Regions from separate parts of the Homo sapiens genome. Here regions 1, 3, 4 and 5 are each linked to region 2. Evidence: promoter capture Hi-C in 16 types of primary human blood cells and fetal thymus (Javierre and others, 2016). All regions are on one chromosome and are shown on one strand. Each heading gives the region's core, a stretch centred on a gene start or on the middle of the fragment in contact. The rest is flanking DNA. Distances are from core to core; before and after follow the strand shown.

Region 1 (2,700 bases), core at 113-2,612, 4.4 Mb before region 2:
TGAAGGAACCGATACAGGAGATAGGAGTAGATAATGACTCTTAGGGGCTGGGCGTAGTGGCTCACTCCTGTATTCCCAGCACTTGGGGAGGCCTAGGCGGGAGAATAGCAAAAATTTAAAAGAGAAAATTAGCCGGGTGTGGTTGTGCACGCCTAGCTACTTGGGAGGCTTGTGCCACTGCACTCTGGGCAACAGAATGAGACCCAGTCTAAGAATGACTCCAAGGATTTTGGCCTGAGCAACTGGAAGGATAGAATTGCTGTTGAGATAGGCCTTTCCAGGTTTGGGAAGAATAGAAAGTTCAATTTGGACATGTTGACTTTGAGACTTGTCTTAGACATCCAAGTAGAATCTGTTTTAAGCAGTGACGTGAGTGATCAACTGTATTGTGTGCCTTTGATTAAGACAGAATTGGTAACCCCAGTTTTATCTGAGAGGAGGGGAAGTGTGACAGAAGGGAAGCTGGAATGGAAAGAGCATCTTAACTGGTTGCAGCTAAATTATCTTTGCCAATTTTTTTTTCTTTTTTTTTTGAGATAGAGTTTTGCTCATGTTGCCCAGGCTGGAGTGCTGCAGTGGCTTGATCTTGGCTCACTGCAACCTCCGCCTCCCAGGTTCAAGCAATTCTCCTGCCTCAGCCTCCTGAGTAGCTGGGATTACAGGCATGCGCCACCATGCCCGGCTCATTTTGTATTTTTAGTAGAGATGGGGTTTCTCCATGCCGGCCAATGGCTGTTCTCGAACTCCAGACCTCAGGTGATCTGCCTACCTTGGCCTCCCAAAGTGCTGGGATTACAGGCGTGAGCCACCGCACCCAGCATTTTTTTTTTTTTTCTTTTGAGACGGAGTCTTGCTATGTCACCCAGGCTGGAGTGCAGTGGCATGATTTCAGCTCACTGCAACCTCTGCCTCCCGGGTTCAGGCGATTCTCCTGCCTCAGCCTGCCAGGTAGCTGGGATTACAGGTGTGCCTGTACAGGTCTGCCACCACGCCTGGCTGATTTTTTGTATTTTTAGTAGAGGCAGGGTTTCACCATGTTGGCCAGGCTGCTTTTGAACTCCTGACCTCAGGTGATCCACCCACCTCAGCCTCCCAAAGTGCTAGGATTACAGGCATGAGCCATCGCTCCTGGCCGCCAATTTTTTGAAAACATGTGATTGAACACATTCCTAGTATACTTGCCTTAGAAGGAGCTTGTAGAAGTTAGGGATACTGGAGTTTAAGTTTCATAAGCTTCATAGTAAATCCACCTGTGCTCCTAACCCTGAACCCCAGGTGTATGTGATGATAAAGTTGGTGTTGGGGAAGTGTCTAGGAAAGAGCCAGGTTTCAGTCTGGGTAAGGAGGTGGGAAGAATATTGGGAGATGAGGTTGAGGATGTAGAAAAGATTTATTGGTAATGGGATGAGCTGGTATTGCAGATAGAGTGGATGAGAAGCTGTGTCAGCTAAGCAAATGTAAAAAAGTTTGGGAGATGATGAGAGAAGCTTACATATGTAGTGGTGAGTTAGGTCAAAAAGGGTGTGATATGTGTTTGATTTGGTCATGAGAGTCTCTTGGATGGGCTGGGCTCTGGTCCAGTGTGATGGCCTGGTATAAATTCTGTAAGAGACGTGCAGTGCCTTAGGTAATGGAAGGGAAACACTCCCTAGACAGTCCTATCCCTGTGTATACATGGTGGTAGTGAGTGGGAAGGCTGCTGTGGATAGGTGGTCTAAGTGCTTTATGCACATTGCCTTTTTCCAGTCTTAGAGTACTTTTCAGCAGGTATTATCATCATTACATAGCCAAGGAAACTGAGGCTTAGAGATTAAGTAATTTCCCCAAGGTCTCCCAAAGAAAGAGACAAAACGACTGGAACTGGGTCTGTCTGAAATCAGTGCCTATGCTCTTAATATTCACAACACACTTATTGTATGGTTAGAGGACTATGCATCTCTTATTCCCAAAGATCACTTAGTTACTTGAGGGCAGGAGTAAGTGTTTCCTTTCATATTTACATGCATACCAAGCACATAGCAAGATGCCTTGTAGATTAATAGGTCCTCATTTGTTGGGGAATTGAACTAAATTACTTAGTAAAAGCTCAATAAGTGTTGATGGCAAAAGATGGTAGGTGCTATAGGAGAGGCCCAAACAACCATTGGAACATAGAGGATCTATTCTTTGTTTTTCAAAATTTATTGTAGAGACAGGGTCTTGCAGTGTTGCCCAGGTTGGTCTTATACTCCTGGCCTCAAGTGATCCTCTTGCCTTGGTCTCCCAAAATGCTAGGACTACATGTGTGAGCCACCACTCTGGCAGAGGATATATTCTTAGGTTTGGATTCTGTCTTAGTGTCTTTGGGCCACTGTAACAAAATCCAGTAGACTGAGTGGCTTAAATAACAGACATTTATTTCTCACAGTTCTGGAGGCTAGGAAGTCTGAGATCAAGGTGCTGGTAGATTTCATGTCTGGTGAGAGCTGTTTCCTGACTCATAAATGGTGCCTTCTCATTGTGTCCTTACATGGTGGATAGGGCAAATGAGCTTTCTTGGGCTTATTTTATAAGGGAACTACTCCCATGAGGGTTGACCTCTCATGACCTAATCTCTTTCCAAAATGCCCCACCTCCTACAACCCACAGGCTAGGGTTTCATCATGTGGATTTTATGGGGGACATAAACATTTTGGCTGTAGAATCTCCTTTAATACAACA
Region 2 (2,700 bases), core at 190-2,689:
CGGGACTAAGGCCAGTTTATCCAGTTGAAAATGCCGCTACTGAGTTTCCGTTGGGAATGATTGGCTGGCTTCCCGGAAACCTTCACAGCCCTGCCGGAGACTCATGCGCATTATTAAGGCGTTACTCTAAATATGGTCCCCGGTGCGGTTCCGGTGTTTTGTTTTAACAAACTCTAAATTTAAGTTCCGTTTCCAATGATTAGATGGCTGGGCGTCATTGCTAACGTGATAAATCACTTAAAATGTTATAATAGAGATTTATTGTAAAATATTACATACCCGGGGACAATGGAATAGCCACCAGTTTGGGAACTTAATGTTATTGAGCGTCTAACGTGCCTCATTCCTTGTACTTTTAAATCAGAATATAAAGTGAAAAGCAAAAATGTGTAGATGGAATAATTTGTCTTATATCTCTATCTGGGCTGAGAAAACAAAATGCCAAGTCTCTTTTTCACCGCGCTGGGAGTGGCAACCCATTATTTTAATATTTTCATTGTTTAAAGGGAAGTGAACGTGGTCTGGTCCAGCTATTCGTCAGAATTTTTTTTTTTAATGCTCCTTGCAAAGCAGAGCTAACTCATAGGCAACATGCCCAGAGTCAGCCTACATTTTTTTAAGTAAGGAGTCCTGATGTTCAACTATTAAATCTTTATTATAGGTAAGAGCATTATAATAAACGTCGGTGTGCAATTATTCCACTCTAACGAAGATTTCTGTCTCAAATAATTCCTGACTTCTCTCTAAACCTGACTTTGAGTAACCTCTGTAAATTTGTTTCCTCGTGTACTGAGAAAAAAATATACATCACAGAGTTACGAGCATTAATAATGTCATTCTCATCAGCAAGTGGCATCCTGAGTGCGGCTTCTTTATAAATTGTTTTATTTGTTAAAGTTTCTGAACTTCGTTTTGGACAAACTTTCTCGTATTTGTATGGGGGGAAGGGGATGGGCAGTTTGTATTTAAGTTTCGGTTGTGTGATCTTTAAAAGGGAAATGGTGGGATATGGGTTTTCGGATCGACAAGGACTGAAGCACTTCAGGTGTGACTTTTTAGGCTAGAACTAGATAAAACGAGATAAGGAGCCTGAATGCTGTTTTCTTTTAACAGGTTATAGACTGGACTTTAAAGGCATAGCTGCCTTAAATGTGGGTAATGGTTGATAAATGTCGCTACCATCAGAGGTCGCTTCACAAGGTGTCTAATTCAGAATCGAAGATCTCTAGCGGTCTTCTACTCAGTCGACTGCAGAGACGACCGCGGTAGGTTTTTCAACCCGGACTCAACAAAGAAGCCCTCATAGCACAGCCTTGACGTCACTCAAAGACAGGCCCCAATCCCGACTGCTAGAGCAGAGGCCCGCCCCTCGACCTCCGTGAGTGGCCCCGCCCCGCCCTAGGGGGCGGGGCGATGCCGAACTGCGGCGGGCTGGCTCAGTAAAGCGGAGGCAGCGGGGGAAGATGGCGGCGGCCGTTCCACAGCGGGCGTGGACCGTGGAGCAGCTGCGCAGTGAGCAGCTGCCCAAGAAGGACATTATCAAGTTTCTGCAGGAACACGGTTCAGATTCGGTACCAGAGGCGTAGGGGCGGCCGGGCTGGTGCGGCTGAGGGACGCCTCACCCCCCTGGAGATGCCCATACATTCCGTATTCCTCTGTGCCCCCGCCCTCGTCTTCCCGCGGCCGGTGGCCTGGAAGGCCGGAGAGGCCCAGCTTGTGCTTTGGTGCCTCGCTCCCGCCTCTCGGGCGTTCTCTACTGGGGCAGGGGAGCAGCTTTATTTCTTGGGGCACACAGGCTGCAATTGTAGAGTTAGAACCTCATTGGGATCCTTGAGTGGGGGTGGAGGCCAGAAAAATAGGAACCCGAGGATATTGGGGGCTAGGGCGGAGAGGCCGAGGAATAGTGGTGTGGATGAGACTCCTGGGAGCGGGGCGCCGGCTACTAGGGAAATGGGAAGGGATGTGAAGATTTCTGTGGGAACGGTGTATCCAACTTGCTTTTCTCAACAGTTTACTAAATACTGAACATTAATGCGTGTGATTTTTAAAAAATCCGTAGGTTGTGGTTTAAGTTTTGATTTAACATATCGACCCTTTAAATGACCTTTTCACCTTTATACTTTAAGGGAGCTACATGCACATTTCTCTTGTGCAGTGGTCTGTCATTGTTATAAACAGACTAAGAAATTTATTTGAAATGCTTTATACTGTAGGCTCTCCATTTGTCAGCATAGTCTCCATCTTAACCATCCGTCTATAGTCAAGTTATTTTTGTTACACTTGTTTTTCCTTTGGAAAATAAGTTCATTCATGCACCTGTTAAATTGCTGAAATAGTTGTGCACGCAGCATTCTCTTACAAGCGGCAGCCTGCTTGTGTTTTCTATACAATTTTTAAAATTCTAAACTTTTCATTTAGAAAAACTGTTTCTGGGTTTTTTTGTTTGTTTGTTTGAGACGGAGTCTCTCTCTGTTGCCCAGGCTGGAGTGCAGTGGCGCGATCTCGGCTCACTGCAACCTCCGCCTCCCGGGTTCAAACGATTCTCCTGCCTCTGCCTCTCGAGTAGCTAGGACTACAGGCGCGTGCCACCACGCCAGGTTAATTTTTTGTATTTTTAATAGAGACGGGATTTCACCGTGTTAGTCAGGATGGTCTCGATCTCCTGACCTCGTGATCCGCCCGCCTCGGCCTCCCAAAGTG
Region 3 (2,700 bases), core at 171-2,670, 4.5 Mb before region 2:
TTCTAGGAAAAGTATAAGGCCAGCATAATCTCGAAGAATTTTCACTCTTTCCCACACAAAATGCAGCTTCCACCACCAGTGATGTTTGGTCTGGGAGAATTTGGCCTCTCTATAATGGCCGAAGGAGTCGGGATACTCAGCATTGATGCACCCCAATTTCAAAGCGGCATTCTTCGGCAGGTCTCTGGGACAATCTCTAGGGTCACTACCTGGAAACTCGTTAGGGTACAACTGAATGCTGAAAGGAAAGAACACCTGCAGAACCGGACAGAAATTCACCCCGGCGATCAGCTGATTGATCTCGGTCGACCAGAAGTCATGGCTAAAGATGACGAGGACGTTGTCAATTCCCTGGGCTTTTCGAAGTGAGTCCAGCAGCAGTCTGAGGTATTCGGGCCGGTTATGCACCTGGACCACCAGCACCAGCTCCCGGGGGGCCCAGGTGCCAGCCTTATCTACATTCCTCAGGGTCTGATCAAAGTTCAGCTGGTACACCAGGGACCGGTACCGCAGCGTCAGGTTGTCCGCCTCGGGCTGGGGGACCGCCGGGACCAGGGAAGCCGCCGACACGTTGGAGACCCTGCGGATGCCCACAGCCACAGAGGGGTGGTCCCCACCGCGGCCGCCGGCACCCCGCGCGGGTTCGGCGTCCAGCAACGGTGGGGCGAGGGCCTCGTTCTTCCTTTGTCGCCCATTGCTGCTCCAGAGGACGAAGCCGCAGGCGGCCACCACGAGCGTCAGGATTAGCACCTTCCGTTTGTAGATGCGGAACCTCATGGTCTCCAGGGCCGGGAGCGCAGGCGGGCGGGCGCGGAAAGGAGCAGCTGCTTCTGCACGGAAGGGGCGGGCGGGCGGCGGCCGTCGCCTTGGCCTGTCACGGTCGGAACTGGCCCCCGCGGCTGCCCTCGCTAACTCATCCCGGGCCCCGGGGGTCCTGGGGCCCGAGACCTCTCATTTACCCCGCGCCGCCTGCGCTCCACACATCCTCGCCTGGCAGCTACAGCTCGAGCATCGGCGCCGCCGCTAGGAGCCGCGGCTCGGCTTCGTCTCCGTCCTCTCCATTCAGCACCACGGGTCCCGGAAAAAGCTCAGCCGCGGTCCCAACCGCACCCTAGCTTCGTTACCTGCGCCTCCAGCGGCCCTGCGTCCTCTGCGCTCTCATCCTTACAGGGGCCCTAGACGGCCAGAACTGAGCGACGCGGCCTCGCCTCACTCCGGCGGGGACCGTTATGACAACCCGCAACTGCCCCGCGGCACACCGCGGCCCTCCGGCCCACACCCCTCCGGCCCGCCCCTTAGACCGTTGGTTGGTGCTTTCCAGACGCGACCGAAGGCGCCTGACCGCCGTGGCCGGCTGCCTATTGGTTTGCAGTACTGTCGCTCAGGTGCAGTTCCCACTTCCGCCTGTTTCTTCCCTTTCCTGTTAGGCGAGAGCTGCGAAAGGCGAGAGCTGCGAAGGGCCAGGTGTCGGGCGCTGTTTCTCGGTAAGCTAAGAACGAGGCTGTAGCGGCTCCAATAGGAGCCTCCCTTGCTCAGAATCCTGGGTAGGACTAGGCCTTCTTAGGAAAGGGAAGGCGAGACCTATGGCCCTCGCCGGCCTTAGTTCGAGAGCAGGCTTCTCCCTTCAGGAAAAAGGTCTCAGGCATGGCGGCTATAGAATCGCGGGGCGCGCCGGCTTGATAAGGACACGTCAGCCCTCGAGGCTGCTGACGGGTGACTGTGCTTCGGAGGGGAAAAGTGATACTACGCTGATGTGGTTCTCGTAGAAGGAACGGGGCGGGTCGTAACCGTAGCTACAACGTCGCGCGCTGCCCCAGCCATTCTCTAGAGCTGGAAAATGGAGGAGGTGGGTGGGGGGAAGGGGGTCAAAGAAACTCTGGTCCTTAACTTCCTTTTCGGAAGAAAATTAGATGAACCGCACTTTTCTTTTGGAGCAGTCACAATAAATTAAACTCATTTCGTACGGAAAACGGACTGTATTGGGCCTCCTAAAGCTGCTGCTGTCGGTTTTCGTGAGTCTTGTTCTATATGAGAAAAGAAGAATGGCTCGGAGCATTGTTAATTATTTGAGATGTGCAAAATTTGCCGGGCCCAGAGAGACAGCAGTATGGGACTTCAGACACCTCCCCACTTAATGCCTGGCATTTTATTCCTGACTAGCTGCTTCACCCATTATGTCCGCGTTCCTGGAATTTGTCATGAAAAGAATGATGTATAGCCAATCAATCGCTTGTGTTATTTTAATGTAAATTCTTGGTAGACAATTTAGGAACTGCCATTTTTTCCTCTAAAAACCCACTTGCAACTGCTGCTACTCAGGGCATTTTGAATCTGTGCTCTGGGTTGCAATCCTCAAACTTGCCCCAAATAAACATTCTACTTATATGAATTGTGCCTCAGTTCTTTTTTTTTTTTGAGACGTAATTCCGCTGTTGTTGCCCAGGCTGGAGTGCAATGGTGCGATCTCGGCTCACGGCAACCTCCGCCCCTCCCCACCCCGCCCAAGCGATTCTCCTTACAGGTATGCACCACCACCACGCCAGGCTAATTTTGTATTTTTAGTAGAGACGGGGTTTCTCCATGTTGGTCAGGCTGGTCTCGAACTCCGGACCTCAGGTGATCCGCCCTTCTCGGCCTCCCAAAGTGCTGGGATTACAAGCATGAGCCACCGTGCTCGGCCTTGCCTCAGTTCTTTAGGTC
Region 4 (2,700 bases), core at 53-2,552, 4.5 Mb before region 2:
AAAAAAAAAAATCAGCCACGCATGGTGGTGGGTGTCTGTAATCCCAGCTACTCGGGAGGCTGAGGCAGGAGAATTGTTTGAACCCGGGAGATGGAGGTTGCAGTGAGCTGAGATCGTGCCACTACACTCCAGCCTGGGCAGCAAGAGCAAAACTCCGTCTCAAAACAAACAAACAAACAAACAAAAAAAGCAAGCAAGCAAGCAAATACACGCCAGGCCAAGTATGGTGGCTCATGCTTATAATCCCAACACTTTGGGAGGCTGAGGCAAGAGGATCGCTTGAGGCCAGGAGTTCAAGGCCAGTCTGGGCAACATCATATCAAGACTCCGTCTCTACAAAAAGTTATTTTAAAAATTTATCCGGGAGTGGTGAGGTACACCTTTAGTCCCAGATATTCAGGAGGCTCGCTTGAGCCTAGGTGTTTGATGCAGTGAGCTATGACTATGCCTCTGTACTTCAGCTTGGGTGACAGAACAAGACTCTGTTTCTAAAAAATAAAGAAAATACAGCCAAATATTAATCATTAATGTTTTTAATACCATACCTTACTTAGACAGATATCCACAGGAGGCTCCTTTAACCGAACAGTGGCTTTCCCCTCATCTACAAATTTGGTGAAGAATTGCTCAATGTTCTCCCTTAGCTGCATAAAACCAATAGAAAAAAAAGAAGAAAACTAATTATTGTTACTCAGTAACATTTATTACAACTAGAATGTGCCAGTTACTTTGCCAGGCTTTGGTTTGGCTTTTAGTCCTTGAGTCTGAGTGTTTTCATTTTAAGTTTTAAAGCTTTTTATCACGCCACTGCACTCCAGGCTGGGCAACAGAAAGAGACTCCTTCTCAAAAAAAAAAAAAAAAAAAAAAAAAAAGTTGTTTTTTTTTGAGACAGAGTCTCACTCACTCTCACCCAGGATGGAGTGAAGTGGTGCCATCACTGCAACCTCCACTTCCCAGGTTCAAGCAATTCCCATGACTCAGCCTCCTGAGTAGCTCGGATTACAGGTGCGTGCCACCATGCCCGGCTAATTTTTGTATTTTTAGTAGAAACACGGTTTCATCATGTTGGCCAAGCTGGTCTAGAACTCCTGGCCTCAAGTGATCTGCCTGCCTGGGCCTACCAAAGTGCTGGGATTACAGGCATGAGCCACGGCGCGTGGCCAAGTTTTAAAGTTTTTTTTTTTTTTTTTTTTTTTAGCAGTTGGGAAGTTATACTCCTCATCTAGCTGGTGGTGGATGTTACTGCTCTGTCTGTCCAGTAACTCTCCTTTGAGAACAGGATCACCATGTTTTGAGAGAATGCTCCTTTTCTCCCATTCCAACTATGTAACTGTAGGAAGAGTTGCCAATAGCAGTTACTTGCCTTCATAACTTCAGTCCATTAGCCTGGGGTGGGCACACCTCCCAGTAGGTTATATACAAACTCCATGAGAGCAGGAATCTTGTCTCCTTTGCTATTCTATCCTGAGTGCTAGAACGATGACTGACACATAATGAGTGCTCAAAAAAAATTTAATGATTATCATCTATATAAATGGCATATTTAAAATTTAAAAAAAATTAATGATTGCTGTTGCATCTGCTTTAGATTTCAACAACTATTGATTCAGAACCCACTATGTACCAGGTACTCTAATAGGGGCTTGGGACATAGCAATGAATAAGACTGACAGGGTAACTACACTTAAAGAGTTGACAATCTGATGAGAGATAGTTATTAAACAAGTACTTATAAGCATAACAAATATCAAGACAAGGCAAGTGCAGGATGCTGTGACCTGATTTTTTTTAAGAAAGCACATTAAGCTTTAATATAGAAATATTTAGGTTACACTTGTGCTCAAGTAATAAAACATTTGTTCTTTTTTGATCTCATACATTCTCTCCTCAGGTATGGCCCATCTCCTGTACGCTTGGAGCGACCTTTGGCTACGTGGCTGGCCTTGTTATTTCACCACTCTGGGTATGCTGGAATAGAAAGCAACTTACATACAAGAACAATTAACTGGAGAAAAGGGAGATATTTCTTTGTGCAGATTCTGTAAGGGCTGTGCAGAAATGTGTATGGTCAAAGCCAAGCAGTTCCATCTACAGCTCTGTTTTTTATGTAGTTACAACATGATGTGATTGTAGCTTTTTAAACTATGAAACCCCTGAGAGATTGTACCTTCTAGTTGAAATAAAGTATTTATAATAGATTGTGGCTTCAGATGCTGCTTACTGCTTCTTAAATCTTTAAGGAACATTCTTAATAAACTTTACAGAATTCTGAGGACAGGTTTTGTTTTCTTTCAAGTTTTGAACTGCTTCATTACCTATAAAAGGTCTGGGTATAGCTGCAGCATTTCATTTGCTTTCTGAGAGAAATGGACAGTTTCCTTGGCCACTGAAGATGTTTCTCACGTAATTAAACAACAGTTTATACATCTTGATCCTATTCTTTTTTTTTTACAGTGTGTTTCTTTGGAGTTAAAATGGCTATGATAGCCTCATCAAAAACAGTCTTCAATCCCTTCTGGGTTAAAGCTGAACATTCCACATAGCAGCATGCTCCTATCTCTTTTGCTAGTTTCTGTCCTTGTTCCACACATATAGGTTTTTCTTTCATATCACTCAGTCTTGCTAAAGTTTTGGGGTCATCTCGGAGATCAATCTGAGCTCCTATTAATAAAAAGGGTACATTTGGTGCGTATTCCTTA
Region 5 (2,700 bases), core at 183-2,682, 4.6 Mb before region 2:
TCTGCAACGTCCCGCGGCTCTCGCTCGGGAAGTCGAGCCAGGGGCGGCGCGGCTGTGGAGGGACGTTCTGGCTCCTCGCAGTGGGCAAGGGGCCTGGGCTTTCCACGCGCAGATTCCTTCTCTCTTGGAATTGTGTTTTGGCAGTACAGCCTCATTTAGTAGTCAGTCTGTAGTCAGATTCCTTGATTATCTCAAAATGTCTTTTCTATAGTTGGTTTGTTCAGCACCGTAATTCGTTGTTAACGCCTCTTAAGACTTTACGTCTGTTTTACTCTAGAATAGCTTCTCTCCCTTCTCTCTTGTGCCATTTGTTTGTTATATGGATTAGTTTTCTTATTTTCCTACAGCCGTACCACCTTCTGGGTTTGGTTCCTCAGTGTCTTTTCTCATTAACTTGTGCATCCTTTCCCCATACTTCTTTTAGGCTGGAAGCTGTATCTAAAAGCTTTATTAGATTCTAGTTCAGATTTTTTTTTGGAAAATACTTCATATTGCATCACATTAGAAGGCACTTAAGTCTGGTGCACTTTAATGATACTTTCTATTGTTTATTTTTGACTATACAAATAAACAGAGTATCTGCTCCTTTTCTTACACAAAAGGAAGTATATACAGTGTTCCTTAACTTTCTCTTTTCACTTGACGATCCATATCAGGATACAGCAAGCAGTCTCCTCAGTCCTTTTCATAGCTTCATAGCACTCCACCGATTGGATGTGTCATAGCTTATTCAAACAGATTCTTATTGATGGACATATCGGTTATTTCCAGGTTTTTTTGGCTATCATAAATAATGCTGCGATGAAACGTTATGCATATGTTATTTTGTATTTGTACAAGCCTATCTTTGGAGTAGAGTTCTAGATGTGGAATTGCTGGGTCAGAGGATAAATGCATATTTAACTTTACAAATGTAACTGGATTGCAGTGGCTCACGCCTCTCATCTAAGCACTTTGGGAGGATGAGGTAGGCGGATCACTTGAGCTCAGGAGTTTGAGACCAGCCTGGCCAACCTGGGCAATCCCGTCTCTACTAAAAATACAAAAATTAGCCGGGCGTGGTGGCGCATGCCTGTAATCCCAGCTACAAAGGCAAGAGAATCGCTTTAACCCGGGAGGTGGAGGTTGCAGTGAACCGAGATCGCGCCACTGCACTCCGGTCTGGGCGACAGAGCAAGGTTCCTTAGAAAGAAAGAGAGAAAGAGAGAGAGAGGGAAAGGGAGAGAGAAAGAAAGAAAAAGGAGGAAGGGAGGGAAGGAAGAAGGGAGGGAGGGAGGAAGGGAGGAAGGAAGGAAGAAATTCAAGATAGACAAAAGTGATCTATGATAATAGAAAGCAGAAAAGTGGTCATTTGGGAGTAGGGAGGGGGAGGGGACTGATGGAAAGGAGTACAGGAAGTGTTCTGGAGTGATTAAAATGTTCTGTATCTTGATTGAGGTGGTGGTTACATGGGTGTATACATTTATCAAAATGCATTGAACTGCATACAGATATGTGCATTTTACTTAGTGTAAACTATATGTCAATCATAATTCTCACTCCATCACTTTATTGTTACTAGTAATATTGGTATTGTATTTTTGAAATGGAGCATTTGTCCTCCTGGACTGTAGAGTCTGGTGGAGTCTATAGACCAGCAAACAGACAATTACCATACCGTGCAGTAAGTGTGAAAATAGCAAAAGTCCAGGGCACCTTGGGTGTACAGAGGCCCTTTAACTCAGATTGAGGGAAGACAGGGAAGGTTCCTGAGAGAAAGTAAAGTCTAAGTTAAGAACTGAATGATGAACGGAAGTTGTTCAAGGAACTTTCATTCGTGAGAGGGAAGAGTCAAGGATATGCCTAGTTTACCAGCTTGGTCACTGGGTGGGAGGTGGGTGGAGCCCTTCGCTAGGTTATTGAACATGGGAGGAGGAACAGGTTTGGGGGAGGGCAGGGCTAATGGTGAGTTCATTTGGAGGCATATTGAGTTGGATTTGAAGTCTAAGAGAGCTAAGGGCTAGAGATAGGGATTTTGGAGTCATCAGCATATAATTGTTCATTTAAGTATTGGGACTTTATGAGCTGGCCAGGTGAAGGAGCCATAGAAGAAGTTGAAAATTTATTAGAGAAAGAGAATTATGATTGGGAACATTTATGGGAAAAGGGGAATTGTGAGGTCAGATTGTGAGAGAAAGCTGGGCAACTGGAATTGATTATTTTCTCTCCAATTTCTTAATATAAAAAGTAGCAAACCAAAAAAAGTTGAAAAAATAGTTCAAAGAGTACCTGTGTATCTTCCACTCCAGGTTAATAATTATTAATACTACCATACTAGCTTTATGTTTGTTGGTATGTGTGTGTCTGTCTTTTTCATTTTGTTGAATTATTTGAGAGTGGGAGTGCCTTATGGAGAAAATACATGTGATAAATAAGCTTCCTTCAGCTATGAGTTATAGGGCTCTTGGCCCTGAGTTCAGTGTTAACGAATCACAATGTAAAGATGTCTTTACATAAAAACACACATAAAACAAGGTTATAGGCCGGGCGCGGTGGCTCACGCCTGTAATCCCAGCACTTTGGGAGGCCGAGACGGGGGGATCACGAGGTCAGGAGATCGAGACCATCCTGGCTAACACGGTGAAACCCCGTCTCTACTAAAAATACAAAAATTAGCCGGGCATGGTGGCGCGCGCCTGTAGTCCCAGCTACACGGGAGGC

Evidence for each region. Contacts are between HindIII fragments. The CHiCAGO score rates a contact against its expected background, and 5 or more counts as called.
Region 1: a fragment that was not itself captured here is called in contact with the fragment with the promoter of FKBP3 in region 2 in 2 of 17 cell types (naive B cells and total B cells); the score reaches 5.7 in naive B cells.
Region 3: a contact is called between the fragment with the promoter of RPL36AL here and the fragment with the promoter of FKBP3 in region 2, in 1 of 17 cell types (total B cells). The highest score is 5.0, in total B cells.
Region 4: a fragment that was not itself captured here is called in contact with the fragment with the promoter of FKBP3 in region 2 in 1 of 17 cell types (naive B cells); the score reaches 6.1 in naive B cells.
Region 5: a contact is called between a fragment that was not itself captured here and the fragment with the promoter of FKBP3 in region 2, in 1 of 17 cell types (fetal thymus). The highest score is 7.8, in fetal thymus.

Annotation. Positions count from the first base shown.
Region 1 is chr14:49,579,024-49,581,723 of GRCh38, reverse strand. It overlaps a transcript of RPS29 not described here. Among named protein-coding and RNA genes, the nearest start is that of RPS29, 6.0 kb to the left of the region's middle. RefSeq lists an enhancer at 31-150. The HindIII fragment of the contact is 254 bases long and covers 1,236-1,489 here.
Region 2 is chr14:45,133,220-45,135,919 of GRCh38, reverse strand. FKBP3 (FKBP prolyl isomerase 3) reads left to right here and starts at 1,439. Exons shown (of 7, transcript NM_002013.4): 1 at 1,439-1,571. The coding sequence starts at 1,464. RefSeq lists enhancers at 499-1,369, 1,463-1,682, 1,370-2,241 and a silencer at 1,316-1,493. The HindIII fragment of the contact is 3,907 bases long and covers 1-2,700 here.
Region 3 is chr14:49,619,346-49,622,045 of GRCh38, reverse strand. RPL36AL (ribosomal protein L36a like) reads left to right here and starts at 1,420. Exons shown (of 2, transcript NM_001001.5): 1 at 1,420-1,484. MGAT2 (alpha-1,6-mannosyl-glycoprotein 2-beta-N-acetylglucosaminyltransferase) reads right to left here and starts at 1,247. Exons shown (of 1, transcript NM_002408.4): 1 at 1-1,247. The coding sequence starts at 777. RefSeq lists silencers at 756-865, 1,166-1,375 and enhancers at 597-1,147, 1,536-1,645. The HindIII fragment of the contact is 17,089 bases long and covers 1-2,700 here.
Region 4 is chr14:49,600,314-49,603,013 of GRCh38, reverse strand. LRR1 (leucine rich repeat protein 1) reads right to left here. Exons shown (of 4, transcript NM_152329.4): 2 at 546-644. It also overlaps the pseudogene RHOQP1. Among named protein-coding and RNA genes, the nearest start is that of LRR1, 2.7 kb to the right of the region's middle. The HindIII fragment of the contact is 1,015 bases long and covers 795-1,809 here.
Region 5 is chr14:49,690,359-49,693,058 of GRCh38, reverse strand. No RefSeq gene overlaps it. Among named protein-coding and RNA genes, the nearest start is that of KLHDC1, 1.4 kb to the left of the region's middle. The HindIII fragment of the contact is 1,970 bases long and covers 448-2,417 here.